Linked DNA regions of Homo sapiens: regions 1, 2 and 4 are each linked to region 3. The links are contacts of gene promoters, found by promoter capture Hi-C in blood cells and fetal thymus (Javierre and others, 2016). All regions are on one chromosome and are shown on one strand. The core of a region is centred on a gene start or on the middle of the fragment in contact, and the rest is flanking DNA. Distances in the headings are between cores, read along the strand shown. Region 1 overlaps DOCK3 (dedicator of cytokinesis 3). Region 2 holds the start of NPRL2 (NPR2 like, GATOR1 complex subunit). Region 3 holds the start of CISH (cytokine inducible SH2 containing protein). Region 4 overlaps DOCK3 (dedicator of cytokinesis 3).

Evidence for each region. Contacts are between HindIII fragments. The CHiCAGO score rates a contact against its expected background, and 5 or more counts as called.
Region 1: a contact is called between a fragment that was not itself captured here and the fragment with the promoter of CISH in region 3, in 4 of 17 cell types (endothelial precursors, monocytes, M2 macrophages and 1 more). The highest score is 9.2, in endothelial precursors.
Region 2: the fragment with the promoter of NPRL2 here is called in contact with the fragment with the promoter of CISH in region 3 in 10 of 17 cell types (erythroblasts, endothelial precursors, megakaryocytes and 7 more); the score reaches 14.5 in erythroblasts.
Region 4: a contact is called between a fragment that was not itself captured here and the fragment with the promoter of CISH in region 3, in 3 of 17 cell types (naive CD4 T cells, activated CD4 T cells and total CD8 T cells). The highest score is 6.2, in naive CD4 T cells.

The regions. Positions count from the first base shown.
Region 1 is chr3:51,099,193-51,103,531 of GRCh38, reverse strand. The region is part of intron 9 of DOCK3 (dedicator of cytokinesis 3); the gene reads right to left. Among named protein-coding and RNA genes, the nearest start is that of MANF, 280 kb to the left of the region's middle. The HindIII fragment of the contact is 2,188 bases long and covers 1,609-3,796 here.
Region 2 is chr3:50,347,592-50,352,160 of GRCh38, reverse strand. It overlaps NPRL2 (NPR2 like, GATOR1 complex subunit), which reads left to right and starts at 1,386. Exons shown (of 11, transcript NM_006545.5): 1 at 1,386-1,586; 2 at 2,139-2,230; 3 at 2,328-2,496; 4 at 2,667-2,775; 5 at 3,151-3,287; 6 at 3,379-3,476; 7 at 3,598-3,634; 8 at 3,751-3,844; 9 at 3,920-4,037; 10 at 4,260-4,402; 11 at 4,488-4,569. The coding sequence starts at 1,509. The coding sequence ends at 4,555. It overlaps CYB561D2 (cytochrome b561 family member D2), which reads right to left and starts at 1,299. Exons shown (of 4, transcript NM_001291284.2): 1 at 1,177-1,299; 2 at 601-752; 3 at 115-152. The coding sequence starts at 727. LOC127898564 (CYB561D2-LOC101928965) reads right to left here and starts at 1,299. Exons shown (of 5, transcript NR_183066.1): 1 at 1,177-1,299; 2 at 601-752. RefSeq lists an enhancer at 1,125-1,344. The HindIII fragment of the contact is 2,178 bases long and covers 1-1,396 here.
Region 3 is chr3:50,610,193-50,614,738 of GRCh38, reverse strand. It overlaps CISH (cytokine inducible SH2 containing protein), which reads left to right and starts at 2,965. Exons shown (of 3, transcript NM_145071.4): 1 at 2,965-3,108. The coding sequence starts at 3,089. It also overlaps a transcript of MAPKAPK3 not described here. RefSeq lists enhancers at 2,447-2,536, 3,446-4,006 and a silencer at 2,617-3,096. The HindIII fragment of the contact is 4,554 bases long and covers 790-4,546 here.
Region 4 is chr3:51,024,680-51,028,951 of GRCh38, reverse strand. All of the region lies in intron 5 of DOCK3 (dedicator of cytokinesis 3), which reads right to left. Among named protein-coding and RNA genes, the nearest start is that of MIR4787, 350 kb to the right of the region's middle. The HindIII fragment of the contact is 2,693 bases long and covers 770-3,462 here.

The DNA.
Region 1 (4,339 bases), core at 1,453-3,952, 490 kb before region 3:
CAATTTTTTGAGGGTAGATTTATTAGAAATGACAGAAAGTAATTCAGGGCTAAGTTTGGTAAAGGTAGATAATCAAGAAAGGTAAAATGATTTTTGTTGAATAAACAGGACGACAATAAGGCTCATTTTCCTGTGCCATTTATAAACTAGCTTTGCTTTCACTTTTTGAGATGCTAGAATTTATCTCTTCTGTTCTATTCCCTTTTTTGTGCATGAGCATGTCACCTACTTTGCTCTGTAGTCTCATTGTAGCACAGGCTCTCATTGTAGCACAGCTCTTGGGCCTGCACCACCATTGGTTTAGTACATCTGCTATATATTTCTCTCCATTCTATGTCTTGGGGTGCTGAAATATTTATATTTTCCATTAGAGCCCCTTGAAAGAAAAAGATATCGTTTTATATATTTAGGTTCAAAACTTAATAGCAACAAGCAGGTAGACATTTAATAAAGAGTTTTACAATTTTGATTTGAAGAGTCCATATAAAGTGTATTGTGGCTTTCCTGCAGTGGGAGGGGAATAGTAGTTTTAATGACAATTGAGTTCAAGGTAAACAACTGGCAGAATCTATTTCCAAGGGAGTCTCTGTTCTAAATGTGCTCAGAGGGAAACATATTTGGAGCATTCCTTCTCAGAAACCAGCAGCCATATCTCTAGATGCCATTAGAAGTTTACACATCAACAAAATATTTTCCCTTTTCTAACCAAGAACTGATTTTTAAAAACTCATAATTGTATATATTTTATATTTGAAATTCTAAATTTCTATTTTTCTCTCATACCATTTAACCTTTTCTAATGAGTCATAATTATTGGACTCCTGGTTCCCATGCACTGCAAAGGAGCCATCTCGTCTCAGGGCTTCCTTTTGTTTGTGCTATTTCTACAACACTATTTCTTCTGTTCTTTTGTAGCTGATTTCTAGTTACCCTAACAACAGCCACACAGCTTACTCCATGGACAGCAAGTATACATATATGTCACTCAATTTTCCATTCTCTCTCATGAGTCTCCAGACTTTGTTTTTAAACATCATTTAGCACATTCCTCAAAATATAAACCCTGATATACTGATCCAGACTTTGTTTTTAAACACCATTTAGCACATTCCTCAAAATACAAATCCTGACATACTGATTGATTTGCTGACAGAATCCAGTACCTTGTGTTCTTCACTTCCATGTGAAGATTAAAATATCCAGTTTTTAAAATCTTGCTCTGTCTTGAGATGATCTTTAATAAATCCTGATCTACAGCCAGGCAGATATTTTACATTGCTTTGTAAATGTAAAAGTAGAGAAAATAATCCTCAGTTTATGAATAAATGCTCTGGCTCTGACAGAAACACCTCCGGTCACTAGAAGTCTGTGTCCAGAGACCCTCAATGATTGTAACTCCAAAGACACCAGCCACAGGCCTTACAGTTGAGCTGTTTCTCCAAGTACCACGTTTTCAGATAAACACAAATTAGTTAAAATTTCCCCAGCTAAATATATTTTAATGACAACAAAACTTTTTAAAAGAAGTTCAAGAAAGGTAACAAACTTCAAGCTTGTATTTTCTTTGATTCCTTCATATTTTCCTTTATCCCCAACTCTGGAAAAGCTTTAGTGGTACTTTGCAAATGTGAGATTTAGCCAAGTGGATGCTGGGATCAGAGGGGAAGTGACTGTCTGTTTAAATCATGCTTTCTGTGAGCCTGGCTTTGAGGCAGGAGTAGAAATGGGAGAAAGCCTAGAATGCCTTAATCTGAATTCAGCTGGATTCTACACGAAGCCTTTTTTGCAACTATAGATTTAATGCTGGAACTCCATCTTGAGAGTTTATAATAAGTCATTTGTTCATTTGATAAATGTTACCAGCTCATAGCAGGCTCTGTAACATTTTTGCTTACATTAGTAATATTCTAAGGAAAAGGAACAGAGGGAGGAATTAGTGTGTACATATTATGGCTATTTTCTAGTTTTCACTGTAAGTTGAAAAACATCTTCAAAAGTTTACCACCACTTTGTTCACAATGGAGTATCATTCTACCACAAGTTATCTATTTTCCTTTTCAGCATCCTGATGATCTCTACCGCCTTGCAATTTTCTAAGAAAGACTAAGCCGAGGCCGGGCGCGGTGGCTCACGCCTGTAATCCCAGAACTTTGGGAGGCCGAGGCAGGTGGATCATGAGGTCAGGAGATCGAGACCATCCTGGCTAACAAGGTGAAACCCTGTCTCTACTAAAAATACAAAAAATTAGCCGGGCGCGGTGGCGGGCGCCTGTAGTCCCAGCTACTCGGGAGGCTGAGGCAGGAGAATGGCGTGAACCCGGGAAGCGGAGCTTGCAGTGAGCCGAGATTGCGCCACTGCAGTCCGCAGTCCGGCCTGGGCGACAGAGTGAGACTCCGTCTCAAAAAAAAAAAAAAAAAAGAAAGACTAAGCCGAGCATGGTAGCTCATGCCCATAATCCCAGCATTTTGGGAGGCAGAGGTGGGAGAATCGCTTGAGGCCAAGAGTTCGAGATCAGTCTGGGCAACATAGCAAGATGTCATCTCTACAAAAAAAAAAAAATTTTTTTTTAATTAGCCAGGCGTGGTGGCGTGCACCTGTAGTCCAAGCTATTCAGCAGGCTGAGGCAGGAGAATCACTTGAGCCCAGGAAACTGAGGCTGCAGTGAGCCATGATTGTGCCATTGTACTCCAGCCTGAGCAACAGGGCAAGATCCTATCTCAAAAAAAAAAAAAAGATAAATTAAATTTAGCTATTGCTTTGTTGAAGTAACTAATTTTTCTGGTTATCCCATAACTTTGGATTTTATCCTGGACCTTGTAAATGTTACATTGTAGAGAATCTGAATTCTGCTATATTCTGAAGAGAATTAGTATTTTTGTTTTAATGGTGAATTAACTTGATTAGACTTAATCTATAATCTCCATTTCTCCTGTGGTGGGTCAAATCACAGTTTTCTTTTAGCCTTTGTTGCTAGCTGCTTTGCGTCTGCCTTGGATACGCATGGTTCAGAGGTGAGCCAGTGACATGGGTAGAGCTCATACATAGAATTTGAGATTCCCATTTCCTGCTCTCTTCTCTCCAGAACTCCCTCTGGTGGCCATACTTGCCCCAGGTTCCATCTCTTGGTTCCTCAGGCTAAAAATATGGCAGGCTTTCTAATGGAGTTTCAGACACTCTATACTATGCTAGGACTACAGCTCACTTTCAGATCAAAACCACAAAAAACAGAAAATTCACCTCATGTTGATCTTTTTCTCCAACTTTTTACTGCCTTACAATATCTGCCTGCTTTATTCATTTGGCAGCACCGTCAGGTAGTTTTTGGATTTTGCTCAGTGTTAACTGTAGGAGGGCCAGACTGTCAGGGGCTTACTCCACCATACCAGAAACAAAATAAGCACAGCTTTACCTTTAGAAGATAGCCAGAATCCAAGCCACCATCGTCTGTCATCTGGTCACTGTAAAGGCTTTCTTTCTTTCTTTATCTAGTTTTTTTTATTTATCCTTAAGTAAATAAGGGTGACATGGCTGCCAGTAATTTGATCCCTTGGCTCCACCTCATTAATTTAGAAATCATTTAGAGATCAAAGGATGAGAGGATGGGACAAATTAAGTCTCTTCCCTGGAAGGTAGCCCCACAGTAGGTGTACCTTCTCAGTAAGGCCTACCCTGACAATCTTATTTAGCACAGCAAATCTCCCTTATGCTTTACTTTTTCTATTCCATAACACTTATCCCTTCAAATATGATACAATTTACTTATTTCTATTTACTGTCTGTCCCTACTATGTAAGCTTCATGAGAACATGGATTTTTGTGTGTTTTATCCACTGCCATATTACTAGAGCCTATAACAGCACAAGCACATAGCAGGTGTAAAAATAAACATTTGGTGCATAAATAAATGACTTTACCAAACACTGTAACTTCTACCTCTGATCTCACTTAATTCTCCACATTCCTCTCCTCACAGAGGATTTTTTTGATATGTGAGACGCATCAGTCATTCTGCTCTACTTTGTCCTACGTATTTTTAGGCAGAGAAGAAGTCAAATTTCTTGTAAACAATGTGAAACTTTCTAAAGAACCTGATCTTTTCTTTCACTGTTGTTATCCAGACTCTGTAGGATGATACATTAAAAATTTTCCACAGCCTAACAGTTAGACTCAGAACATAATGAAGGATGGCATATACAGAACAGCAGTTTCTGATCTTATTTTCAGATGAAAAAGGCAGGTTTAACCACAGGCCAAAGTATATATCTAAAGTAAAAGTTTCACTGTGTCTATCTCTCAAAAGACTTTCACTTTAATGCTTCCGAGTAAGAGCTGATGTGTT
Region 2 (4,569 bases), core at 137-2,636, 260 kb after region 3:
AGCATGCAACTCTTCCAAACAGATATTAAATGTGGACAAAGATTCAGAGGCTGCCAGGGCCACCAACCATGCCCATGCTCCCACCCCTAAGAACTGCCCAGGCCCACTACTTACAGCCAAAGACATAAGCACCGGGTGCCAGGAGAACAGGCCTGGAATGAGAAGAGGAGGCCTCATGGGGCTGAGGCAAGAAGAAACCAGCCATACCAATCCTTAAGGGTTGAGGAATACCAGCAGCCCATCACCCAAGGAGGTGCTGCCAAACTGTGAGCCCCTTCTTGCTCTGCAACAAGCTGACCCCACACCTATCCTCTCTTCCTGGCCTCTTCCTGGATCAGAGGCCATGCTTTGCCACTCCTCTGGCAGTCCTCCCTCCTTCCCTTACACCTCCTGAGAGGCAGCCAAATGGAGCACCCAGAGAAGGAAAGACAAACCAGGAATTCTGTGTGCCCTGGCCATACCTACCTGCTCCACCTCACTCATCGCTCCAGCACAGAATTCCCTCAACCAGCCAGGCCTGTTCCCGGAAGTCCCACTGCCCTTCCTCCCCAGGAACAGTGGCCCTTCCCTTCCCAGAAGTCAGCTATGAATTCTACTTACTGGAGCCAGGCCTGGCAAGCACAGCCACAAAGATGGTAAAGCCCAGGGCCACAAGGTGGGCGGCAGCGCCAGAAGCAGTACGCAGAGCTCGGTAGATGTGTGACTCGGTCTCCGCAGAAAGGGCCATCGTCAGCCGTGCTAGTGGTTGTAGCCTGAAAGCATAGTAGCGTGGGCCAGGATCTCAGGTGCCCACTGTTCACTCCTCACTGGAGAAAAGGCTGCAAGGCAGGAATGCCACCCTCTTCCAATAAGTTATGGTAGGAAAGAACAGTACCAAGACCAGCACCAGGAATGGTCACAACATGCCAGTCGACGGCCGGCGGCCTGTCAACGTGTACCCATGTCTGAACTGGTACCAATCGCTGGCCCGCCTTCCAGGTAGGAGGCGCAAAGCCATGTAAGACTACAAATCCCAGCGTGTACCACGCCGTCGCCGGCAGTAGAGCCAGCTGGGAGGGCGCGGAGCACTATGGAAATTGTAGTTCCCTGCTGCGGTCCCAGTTACAGCGTGAATCCCTTAGCGCACCGCCTCCCCAAGTGCTGCCAGCATGCTGCCCCTCCACGCTAGGGACTTGCCTGCCTCTGCCGCAGCGCAGATCTGATGCGGTGGTTTCCTCCAAAGAAAGCGGGATACTCCGGGCCCTGCCGCGCGCACCGCCGCTCCGTCACGGAGCCGCTTTACTTCCGGGTGCGACGTCTACCCACCCAGGACTTCCTGGGACGAGCCGTCCCCCGCCCCAGCCACGCCTCTGAGTCGCGCTGCGCAGGCGCCATTGGGCAGAGGGATTGGCAAGCTTGCGTGCCCCAGCGACACAGGCCTCGAGGCTGTCTCTGACAAGTGTTCACAGGAGGTGGGGACGCCTCTGCGCGAGGAACGAGGAGCTACGGGCCTGGGCCCGGTTATTGCCATGGGCAGCGGCTGCCGCATCGAATGCATATTCTTCAGCGAGTTCCACCCCACGCTGGGACCCAAGATCACCTATCAGGTGCCACCCGGGCTCGCGGGACTGGGCGGGAAGAGGGACGTTCTCGAGAGCTCAACTGGCTGCCTGAAGGCAGTAGTTTCCCGTGCTGCACGCAGGCATGCTGCTTCATTCGCAGACAACTGTGAGGCTAGAGGATAGTCAGACCCAGGCCCCCGGCTCCCAATGTGGCAGGGAAGACATACGTCACATTGGCAGTGTTTGTAGGATATCGGGCTGTAGGGATCCGGTTGGGGGGTTCCAGGTCCCACAGAAGGTGAGTTGGGTGACCCATGAGTATCCCTGAACTGAGTGAAGAGTAAATGATGCATAGGAAGTTTAGGTAAGGCAGGAGAAAGTGTTCCAGGTAGAGGGAACAGCATATGCAGAAGCCAGGAAGGAGGTGAGATCATAGCGTATGTTTGGAAACAGAAAGAAGTAATAGGCCTGAGTGGATGGGAGAGAGGGGAACGCTGGAGAAGAGGACTTGGGCTTGGGGGGCATGAGGAGGTCACCATTTGTACTACACCCAGTACAGATGTCCACTGAGGGGCCCATTGCCACTCCCCTCCCCAGGTCCCTGAAGACTTCATCTCCCGAGAGCTGTTTGACACAGTCCAAGTGTACATCATCACCAAGCCAGAGCTGCAGAACAAGCTTATCACTGTGTGAGACCCTAGCTCGGGGTGAGCGGTGGGTGGCAGGGGTTGTCCCAGGAGGAGGAAGGGACAGGCTTGGGGGCCTGACTGTGTTCCAATTATCCAGCACAGCTATGGAAAAGAAGCTGATCGGCTGTCCTGTGTGCATCGAACACAAGAAGTACAGCCGCAATGCTCTCCTCTTCAACCTGGGCTTCGTGTGTGATGCCCAGGCCAAGACCTGCGCCCTCGAGCCCATTGTTAAAAAGCTGGCTGGCTATCTGACCACACTAGAGGTCTGCAATGAGATGGGCTTGGGTTTACCGACAGGCAGAGTTGGGGAAGGTGTTCCCATGTCTCCAAAGTCCCCCAAACCTGGGACCCTGCAAACCAGCTCAGGACTCAGGGCAGCCAACCAGCCAGGGGTCCTGGGATGTGCCCACCATGCTTTCCATGCTCTGTCTAGCTAGAGAGCAGCTTCGTGTCCATGGAGGAGAGCAAGCAGAAGTTGGTGCCCATCATGACCATCTTGCTGGAGGAGCTAAATGCCTCAGGCCGGTGCACTCTGCCCATTGGTATGGCCAGCCTCTGCAAGGACAGCAGAGGGGTAGAGGAGAGATGGGAAAGTGAACCCAGCTAGTCAGGGAGAAGGGCAAGACTCATGAACACATTGGTGGGCAGGAAATAGCCATGGGCTGAGGTGCCCATGTCCAGGGTCCAATGCATGATGGAGCTGGGACTGGGGGTAGGGGGAAAGCAGAGCTCTCCAGCTCTGCCCCTTGGGCAATTCCTTCCCCTTTGTGGGCCTCCGTTTCTCACTCCATAAAAAGAGAAAGATTAGCCCTACCCAGAGGCACCTGCTTGCCCCAAGGGATGCTGGGAGGCCTGGATGGTAATTGAGGACCTCTTGGAAGAAGTGGCACTGAGGATATGGATGGGGCCCCCTGCAGATGAGTCCAACACCATCCACTTGAAGGTGATTGAGCAGCGGCCAGACCCTCCGGTGGCCCAGGAGTATGATGTACCTGTCTTTACCAAAGACAAGGAGGATTTCTTCAACTCACAGTGGGACCTCACTACACAACAAGTATGCCATCCCTCCCTGGGTATCATCACCTGGGGCTGGCCACAGCCCTGGCCTCATCCTGTTTCTTCTGACCTTGTCCCACTCTGCCCAGATCCTGCCCTACATTGATGGGTTCCGCCACATCCAGAAGATTTCAGCAGAGGCAGATGTGGAGCTCAACCTGGTGCGCATTGCTATCCAGAACCTGCTGTGAGTGGGCCTACAGTCATACCTGGGACAAGGTCACCAGCCAGGGAAGACCTCAGGGGCCCTGGGTGTGAGGGTTGGGAAGGCATGGTCCTCAGAAGCTGAGCACAGCTCTCTCTCTCAGGTACTACGGCGTTGTGACACTGGTGTCCATCCTCCAGGTAGGTGAGTTGGGTTTGGTTAAGTGGAGAGTGGATCATGTGGCTGGACCAGACCAGGGCTGTGTCAGCTTCCCAAGCCCCTCACTCAGGCCCCTATGCCTTCTGCTACCCTCTAGTACTCCAATGTATACTGCCCAACGCCCAAGGTCCAGGACCTGGTAGATGACAAGTCCCTGCAAGAGGCATGTCTATCCTACGTGACCAAGCAAGGTAGTGGTGGGTTCTGGGGGAAGCCATCTTGGGGAGGGCAGGGCCACATGATGAGCTGATCCCTGGCACCCACAGGGCACAAGAGGGCCAGTCTCCGGGATGTGTTCCAGCTATACTGCAGCCTGAGCCCTGGCACTACCGTGCGAGACCTCATTGGCCGCCACCCCCAGCAGCTGCAGCATGTTGATGAACGGTCAGAGGAGAATTTGCTGGGGCATTTGGGAGTTACCTGAGGGAAGCTAGACCCTTTATGTCTCTCAGGAGCCCTGGATCATGGGGCACTGCCAATCCAAGCAGGCTTCCTGGAGATGATGGGCTACAGAGACAAAATTGAAGGGAGACTACAGGAAAGGGTTGGCCTGCCTGAAAGAAGGCCTGGCCAGGGCGTCACCCCGTCCTCTGATCCTCACCCTAGGAAGCTGATCCAGTTCGGGCTTATGAAGAACCTCATCAGGCGACTACAGAAGTATCCTGTGCGGGTGACTCGGGAAGAGCAGAGCCACCCTGCCCGGCTTTATACAGGCTGCCACAGCTATGACGAGATCTGCTGCAAGACAGGTGGAGGCAGGCGGGCAGTCAGGGTGGGTTCAGGGCAGGGTGGCCAGGCCAAGGCCACTGACCTCTCCTCCACCACCCCACCCAGGCATGAGCTACCATGAGCTGGATGAGCGGCTTGAAAATGACCCCAACATCATCATCTGCTGGAAGTGAGGCTGGTAGTGACT
Region 3 (4,546 bases), core at 1,716-4,215:
TCCCTTAGTGCTCATGTTCCAGCAACCACCTGCAGCATCCCCTCCACAATGATGGGAGGATTTGGCATGCAGGATGGCTAGGTCTGGTCAGGAGTGGGTTCATGATGGCAGACTCTGCCACACAGCCCTTCATGTAGCTGTGTGTCCAAGGGGACAGAGACTTTGGAATAGCTTAAAGTGAGGGGGGCTAAATCCTACACACACACACACACACACACACACACACACACACACACACTCTGTCCTTACTGGAGAGGGGAGGCTGTACATGGTGAGAGGATGGAGGCCAAATGAGCGAGACTTTTGGGAAGGCACTGCTGTGTATTCTTGTGATTCATCTTGTGATTGTTCTGGGTAGGGAGTGGCAGGGGAATCTTGCAGTAAGTTCAATCCCTGGGGTGCAGGAGAGGGATTATCCTAGAAGAGAAGAATCTATGGAAATTTGGCTAGTGAGGGCATGAGAGGGGGCACCGCTAGGTGGCAGTGTGGGCCCAGCAATCAGAGCCAGGGTTTCTAGGGAGCAGCCAGGGCAGGAGAATTAAGTACTAAGTTGGCCAGAGGGACCCAACTTAGTACTTGGGGCAGAACAGGGGCACATCACTGTTCCCAGCATGCAGGTGAGGTGCACAGTGCTGTCATATTCACACACACACAAAAATAGTTGGAAGGCCAAAACCCTTGGAACCCTTTGGTTTACACATAGACTGCATAATCACTGACCTGTAGGAGATACTTTCAAAGGGACACCCATGGTGCTCTGACATGGACAGGCCTGGGGGCAGAGAAGCTTCACTGAGGACCTTAAAGCTGGATGTCTAGGAGTCGGCAGATCACCAGCACCCATAGAGGAAGTAGGAGGAAGTGTGTAGGCTCCTGGCTTAAACCATTACTTGCCAGCTGGGAGATCTAAGTTATATTGTAACCTCTCCATGCCTCAGTTTTCTCACCTGTAAAGAGGAGATAATATGTGGTAGTTGTGACAATGACATGAGGCTGCAAATTGCTGAGAGTGCTTGACACATAGTAAGTGTTCAGTTGAATAGTCATGGTGAGGGGGAAGAAGTATAGTTTTGGTAGAGAGCTTGGGATTTGGCCCCATAAGAGACCCAAGTTCAAAATTGTAACTCTGTTGCCTGGCAGCGGCAAAGTCCTTTTGTCTTCATAGTAATGAGACAGTGGACAGTTCCTACTGGCAAGTCAGTGGTCCACACAGGGGCCGCATATCAGGCTATCCAGGTATCCCAGCCCTCAAAGTGGGTTATAAGGTATCCATCCCCCCTACCCCCATTCCAAGAAAGTGGCTTCTGGCCAACTCAGGAGGGGGCTGGCAGAGTTGCACTCATGAAGCCCGGCTTCCCTTCAGGAAAGCTACAGAGAAGTGACTGCCCTGAAATCTGAAACTTAACGTTTTTTCCCCAGTTTCACAGGGTTTTGCTTTCAGGTTTCTTTTGCCCTCTGCCATTCTGGGCAGAGCAAACTGAGCCCTGTCTTCCCTGGATGCTATCGTTCAGGCCCTTCAACAAGGCCAGGGGTCTGTCATCCCTGCCCAGGATCTCAGAGCTAGACTCCTTTCTGGGGACCCTGGGGGCACACACTGGGAGGGGGATGGGGGTGGGGAGTGGACCCTGCAACCTCTCCAAATCCCACAGTTCTTCTGGCCCAAGGGTTTGGAGGAGATTCACAGACCCTACAGTCCTTCAAGATGCTCCATAGTGAATCCAGTGAACTGAAAAAAGGTGGAGAGGGTCCTGGTAGGAGCGTGGGCTTCTGATTCAGAGCTGGGACCAAGCTCTTACCCTGCCATTTCCTAGCATTTGTTCCCTGGGGCTGTCTTCTGTCCGCATAACGGGAGCAACACCAGTTGTAGAGGATCAAATGCAGCAAGTACTCCCTGTAGATAAGAGCGAGTGTTACTACTCTGCCCCCGCCATCCCGCCCCAACCTCTATCACCCTACTCCCAGATTATCTCCCTATGTTTTGAGTTGCAGGACTCTCTCTCAGCATTTTTTTTCTGGCGGGGGGTGGGGGTGGTACCAACCCAGAGTCCGGGCCATCTGGGGCTGTCTCTGCTTGCTTTCTCAAATCTGTAGTCTCTTCTCCCCTGACTGGCAGGGCCGGCCAGAAACCAGTGCCAGCCAAGACTGGATGGTCTGCCTGATTCGAAAAGTTGGGGCGTGCTTTCTCCTTCAACTCTTTCAAAGAAAACGTTCTTGTCTGGATCTTTCTGGCTGTGGTGACCGCCGGCTTGACCTCAGTGGACCCACTCATTTCTGGAACTGTCCTCTGCACCCCGCCCTGCCCTAAGTCCCGCTCCAGATCTCACCCCATGCCACCCAATCCGACACCCGACACACAGAGTCCTAGGGTCCAGGAGCGGCCGTCCCAACACGGGGCGCTTGCACACGCCGACAGACCTCCTTGGAGGAGCCGCTCGCAGGGAGGACAAGCCCGGGACTCCGCCCCCCGCCCTGCCACGAGTTCCACCGCGAGATAAGAGGGCCCTTCCCCAACGACGCAGAATGCCAGAAGGCAATCTGGGCGCGGGTTGCTGAGCCCGGGCCCCTCCTTAACTTCCCCGACCCGGTCTTTCCCCACTGATCTCTCCGACCTGCCCCTCTGGGTAGCTTCAGCCCCGGGTCCACGCGCTGCTATTGGCCCTCCCCGACCGCTCGGCTCCACCTTCAGCGTCGCGATTGGTCAGCTCGCGGGGCCCCGCCCCGTTTTCCTGGAAAGTTCTTGGAAATCTGTCAAAGTATTTCCTTTCACTGCTCAGGGCCCCAGACCCGGCGACGGGGCCCGCGCACCCCGCCCGGGCCCCACCGCTCAGCCCGCGGTTCTAGGAAGACGCTGCTTCCGGGAAGGGCTGGAACGCGGCAGACAAAGGATTAGGCAGCAGCTCGCCCCGCCCCGCTCGTCTGGCCCGCCCCCCTCGCCCTCGCAGGCGGTCCGCGCCACTGCCTCTCAGTCCCTGTCCTGCGCCCGCGCGCCCCGGGAGCCTACCCAGCACGCGCTCCGCGCCCACTGGTTCCCTCCAGCCGCCGCCGTCCAGCCGAGTCCCCACTCCGGAGTCGCCGCTGCCGCGGGGACATGGTCCTCTGCGTTCAGGGGTAAGCGCGGCTCTCTGCCCCCTTCCCGGCCACCACGAGGGGCGCACGGGAGAACAGGGGCTTCGTGCTAGCTGCCGGGCATTGGGAGGGCTTGACGGGCCAGAGGTGACTGAGCGCAGACGGACCTCAGGAGCAAGGCTCTGTGTGGGGCTGTGACACTCCCACTCCCCGCCCCCACACACTTACCTCAATTCCCACTGTGGATTGGGAAACCGGGGGCTGGCCGGCTAAAGGAGGAACTCACAGGGTGGGCTCAGCCTGGGTTCTCATTGGAGCAGATGGATGCTAACGGCACGGCGTCCCCCAAGATGTGGCCAACAATCCCAGATATTCTTCTGGGCCCAGAGCACTCTACGCTAGCCTGCCTGCTGCCCTGCCTGCTAGTAACCTTGGACCAGCCCCTGGCCCCCTCTGTCCTGGTGTCCCCTCTCCTGCCCCAGGCTAGCAAGTAGGCTCTTCTTGGGAAGCCAGCCGCAGATCCTTGCCTTTCCTCAGGCTGGCACCTGATGGTCTGCAACTCTCGGGAGGCCCTGGGTTTGGCCTGGTCCTGCTTGGGGTACCCCCACAATCGTCTCACAACCCTGTCTCAGCCCAGTCTGGGATCCCAATGTGAGAAGGACCTTGGCTCCTGCCTCTCATCTTCAAATTTCCCAGACTTGAGGTAAGGGACAGTGGAGAGGGGATGCTGATAAGACAGAGTCTTGACCTGAGCTGAGCATTCCTGGCCATCCACTCTGTCCTGAACCTCAGCAACCCCTTCAACCAAAGGGTCTGATGCTGGCCATGGTGATGTGACAGGAGCTCAGGAAGCTCCAAGGAGAGAGGAAGAAGGTATAAATGGGTGTTCTGCACTCAGGGAGGACTGGGTGGCTGTGCTTATCGCAACTGGCCTGGTGCCAAGTGAGGGAGGGTGGAAGGTGAGGCCAAGGAAGAGGACATGGAGGTGCTGGGAAGACTACTTCTCCCTTGCTGTCTCCAGCAAGTTCCTTCCTCCTGTCTGCATTCTGGGACTCCTGAATACCTGCCCCACCACTGCCTTCCACCCCAGGAGCCTCCCCCTGCATTCCGGGGTCCCATAGCCTCTTTCACTTTTTACCCTAGGTGAGCACCCCCTTGTAAGCTCAGGGCTACTGTTGGGTGTCAGGGAACAAAGTTTTAGACTGCTGCGCTCCAAAGCGGGCACACACATGTACCTAGAACACACCAGCCACTGTCCCCACCATGATGATGACACAGCCATGGACACACCCCTGCCCAGGTACACACTCACCAGGAGCTTGTGGTGATCAACACAGCTATTCATACACCCAGCTACCACATCAGCCCCAAAGGTGCCCACACCTACATGTGGGATCTGAGGACCGGCTAAGCTATCTGGACGTGGCCACCCACAGAGGTTCCAGCCTGACTGGCTAGCCACCAACCATGCTCCTGGGAA
Region 4 (4,272 bases), core at 867-3,366, 420 kb before region 3:
ACTAGCTCTCTAGCAATGGATGCCAACCAGACTAAAATGTCTGAAATGACAATATAGAATTAAGAATACAGATGGCAAGAAAACACAATGAGATTCTCATGGAAGTTGAAATTCAATACAAAGTCACCAGAGAAATGATCAAGATATGAAAGACAACATAGCTATATTAAAAAAAGAACCAAACAGAACTGGAATTTAAAATTTCACTACAGGAATTTCAAAATGCATTGGAAACCTTAACAACAGACTAGACCAATTAGAAGAAAGAATTTCACAGCTTGAAGACCAGTCTTTGAGTCAACCCACTCAGACAAAAATCAAAGAAAAAACAATTTAAAAAAACAAAACCTTCAAGAAATATGGGATTATGTAAAGCAACCAAGCCCATGACTTATTTTCATTTCTGAGAGAAAAAAACAGAAAGTAAGCAATTTAGAAAACGTATTTGAGGGTATAATTCAGAAAAATTTCCCCAATCTTGCTAGAGGTTGACATGCAGCTACAAGAAATTAAGAGAACACCTGCAAGATACACAAGACAAACATCCCAAAGTTACACAGTATTCTGATTATCCAAGATCAACGTGAAAAAAAAAATCTTAAAACTAGCTAGAAAAAAGGGCTAAATTATCTATAAAAGGAATTCCACCAGACAAACAGCAGACTTCTCAGCAGAAACCTTATAAGCCAGAAGAGATTGGGGGCCTATTTTTAGCATTCTTAAAGAAAAAACATGCCAGCCAAGATTTCATGTATCACTAAGTTAAGCTTCATAGGAGAAATACAATCCTTCCTAGAAAAGCAAACGTTAAGAAAATTCATCACCACCAGTCTAGCCCGACAAGAAATGCTCGAGAGCTCTAAACATGAAAATAAAGAACAATACTTGCTACACAAAAGCACAAAAAGGTACAAAACCCACAGACCCTATACAGCAACTACCATTCCAGCCTACAAAGTAACTAGCTAACAACACTATGACAGAAACAAAATCTCATATATCAATATCAAAGTTGAACCTACACAGCCTAAATGCTCCACTTAAAAGATACAGAGTGGCAAATTGGATGAAAAAAAAAATGAGATCCAACTTTCTACTGCATTCAAGAGACTCATGTCTCATGTAATGACACCCATAGGCTCAATGTAAAGAGATAAAGATCATGCAAATGAAAAATAAAAAAAGGGGAAGGGGGTGCTATTCCTATATCAGATACAACAGATGTTAAACCAAAGACAATAAAAAGGACAAAGAAGGGCATTACATAATGATAAAGGGTTAAATTCATCAAGAAGAGTTAACTATCCTAAATATATATGCACCCAACAACAAAGCACCCAGATTTATAAAACAATTACAACTAGACCTAAGAAAACAGCCACACAGCCACACAATAATAGTGGGAGACTTCAAAACCCCATTGACAGAATTAGATAATCATCAAGGCAAAAAACTAACAAAGAAATTCTGGACTTAAATTGGATACTTAACCAATAGACATCTACAGAATACCCCACCTAAAATCCACAGAATACAGTTTGCTCATCTATACATAGAACATACTCTAAGATTGACCACATGCTCAGCCAAAAAGCTAGTCTCTATAAATTGAAAAAAAAAATCAAAGGCATACTAAGCATCTTCTTGGACCACAGTTGAATAAAATTAGAAATCGATACCAAGAGGAACTCTCAAAACCACACAAATACATGGGAACTAAATGAGTTGCTTCTGGACAACTTTTGCGTAAAAAACAAAATTAGGCAGAAACAAAAAAAAATTATTTCAAACAAATAGAAACACAACACACCAAAACCTCTCAGATGCAGCAAAAACAGTGCTAAATGGAGTTTATACTCCTAAATGCCTACATCAAGAAGATAGAAAGATCTCAAATTAACAACCTAGTGCCACAGCTAAAAGAACTAGAAATATAATAACTAAATAAAAATCTAGCAGAAGAAAAGAAATACCTAAAATCAGAGAACTGAACAAAATAGCAACCAACAAAACCATACAAAGGATCAAAAAGAAATTTGGTTCTTTGAAAAAAAAAGATTGATAGACTGCTAGCTAGATTAACAAAGAAAAAAGAGAAAATCCAAATAAGCACAATCCAAAATAATAAAACTGATGCCACATAAATACAAAAGATTCCCAGAGATAACTGCAAAAATCTCTATGTGCACAAACTAGAAAATCTAGAGGAAATGGATAAATTCCTGTAAACACACAGCATCCCAAGACTGAACCAGGAAGAAATTGAAACCATGAACAAATCAATAATAAGTTATGAAACTGAATCAGTGATAAAAAGCCTAGCAACCAACAAAAGCCTTAGACCAGATGGATTCACAGTTGAATCCTACCAGATACACAAAAAAAGAGCTGGTACCAATCATACTGAAACTACTTCAAGAAAATTGAGGAGAAGGAATGCCTCCCCAACTCATTCTATGAAACCAGTATCATCTTGATACCCAAAGCTGACAAGGACACAATAAAAAAAAAAAAAAAACTACAGGCCAATATCCCTGATAAACATAGATGCAAAACTTCTCAACAAAATACTAGCAAACCAAATTCAGCTGCAGATCAAAAGATAATTCATCATGATCAAATGGGCTTTATTCCTGAGATGCAAGGATGGTAAACATATACAAGTCAATAAATGTGATTCACCACATCAATGGAACTAAAAACAAAAAAAAACATATGACCATCTCAATAGACTCAGAAAAACCATTCAATAAAATCCAACGTCACTTCATAATACAAACCCTCATTTTTTCATTTTTTATTTTTTTCAAAATGGCAGATTGGAGGCAGTGTTAGCTTGCCTCTCCCACTTGGAAGGTCAGAATAGTGTGTAGAGATTCACACTGTGAATTTTTTTTTTTAAAGCAAGAACCAACACAGGAACTTAATAGAAAAATCAAAAGAATCTACAGACCCTTTGAAACAAATGGCAGGCTGCAGCCTACTCCATGAGACAGGTGAAAAACTAAGTTCTCAGAGTGTGAGAAGGGGAGAGTCTGCCTCTGAGTACATCCTCACTGGGGAATCTGAAAATTCAGGCCATGGAAGAAGACCTTAAACTCTACCAAGAGCTGGATCAAATTTAGAAAGTGGCATAAAATATAAAAGTAGAAGCAACAGTGGGAAGGGGCTTGCAGGCATTCCCAGTCTCCAGTGTGAACCAAGGGAAGTGATTCCTGACTATATCTCACAGGAGCCCTTGGGGAAGTCGGTCAACGAGGGAGAATTCACAGGGTAAATGCAGCTCCCAACTGAATTTTGTGATATAATCTCAAGAGAGGACAAACACCCCATGAACAGAACCTGGGGAATGAGCAGGAAGTGAGCTGCAGACAGGAGTGCAGAAGCTGGGCACGTGACTTTGCAGAAAGACGGGGAGGGGTGCGGCCTGAAAGCTGTGGTTGCTATCTCTGTGGGGAAGCTTATAGGCTGGGGCAGGTCTGAATTCTGTGTGCAGACTGCCTAGATCTAAACCAGGTGCTGTCACCAGAGCACCGCAGGAGTGACACCGACCTTGAAAACGATGTGGGAACTAGGTAAGGCTCACTGCTGCCCACTACTCCCCACTCCTTTTGTAAACTCCTCTGTGCAGCAGAGGCAGTTATACTCCCCTGTGAAACATTACCCCAGCGACCTGAGAACCACCTTGGTCTCTCACAGGGGCCTTAGCCTGCCCTGCACAAGGAGAATCAGAGCTCAGGCCCACCTAACCCTGACCCAACCTGGTGGTATTTCTCCACCTGCCCTGGTAACTTAATACAAAAGACATAAACTTTTAGGAGACTTGTAGCCCCACCCATCACCTAAGAAACCAGAATACTTCCCCTAGGCAACTTAGGGCAAGCTCAAATCCCACTGTTATTACGGCAGCTGGTGCTCTTTTGAAAGCAACACCTCCTGGCTGGAGGCCAACCAACACAGATCTTGACACCATCTCTAGATAGAATAACACTGTGCCCAAGAAGGAGAAAACAGCTGCATGACCTCGGCAATCATCACTGCCTGCAACACCCTGGCAAACCAAAGGTCCTGAGTCTGTCCACGTGACAAGTTCACTACTAGTATTACCAGCATTCAAGAAAGGCAGCACACTAAGCCTATCTACAACCAAGGAATCTCAGAGTCTATGTCACATCACTGGATCCCTTGCAGACATTCCCCAATTCAGGGAACAATTCAGGATGACTGCAGCCCCACAGGAGGAGCACTGCCCAGATGCAGGCTTGCACAAAA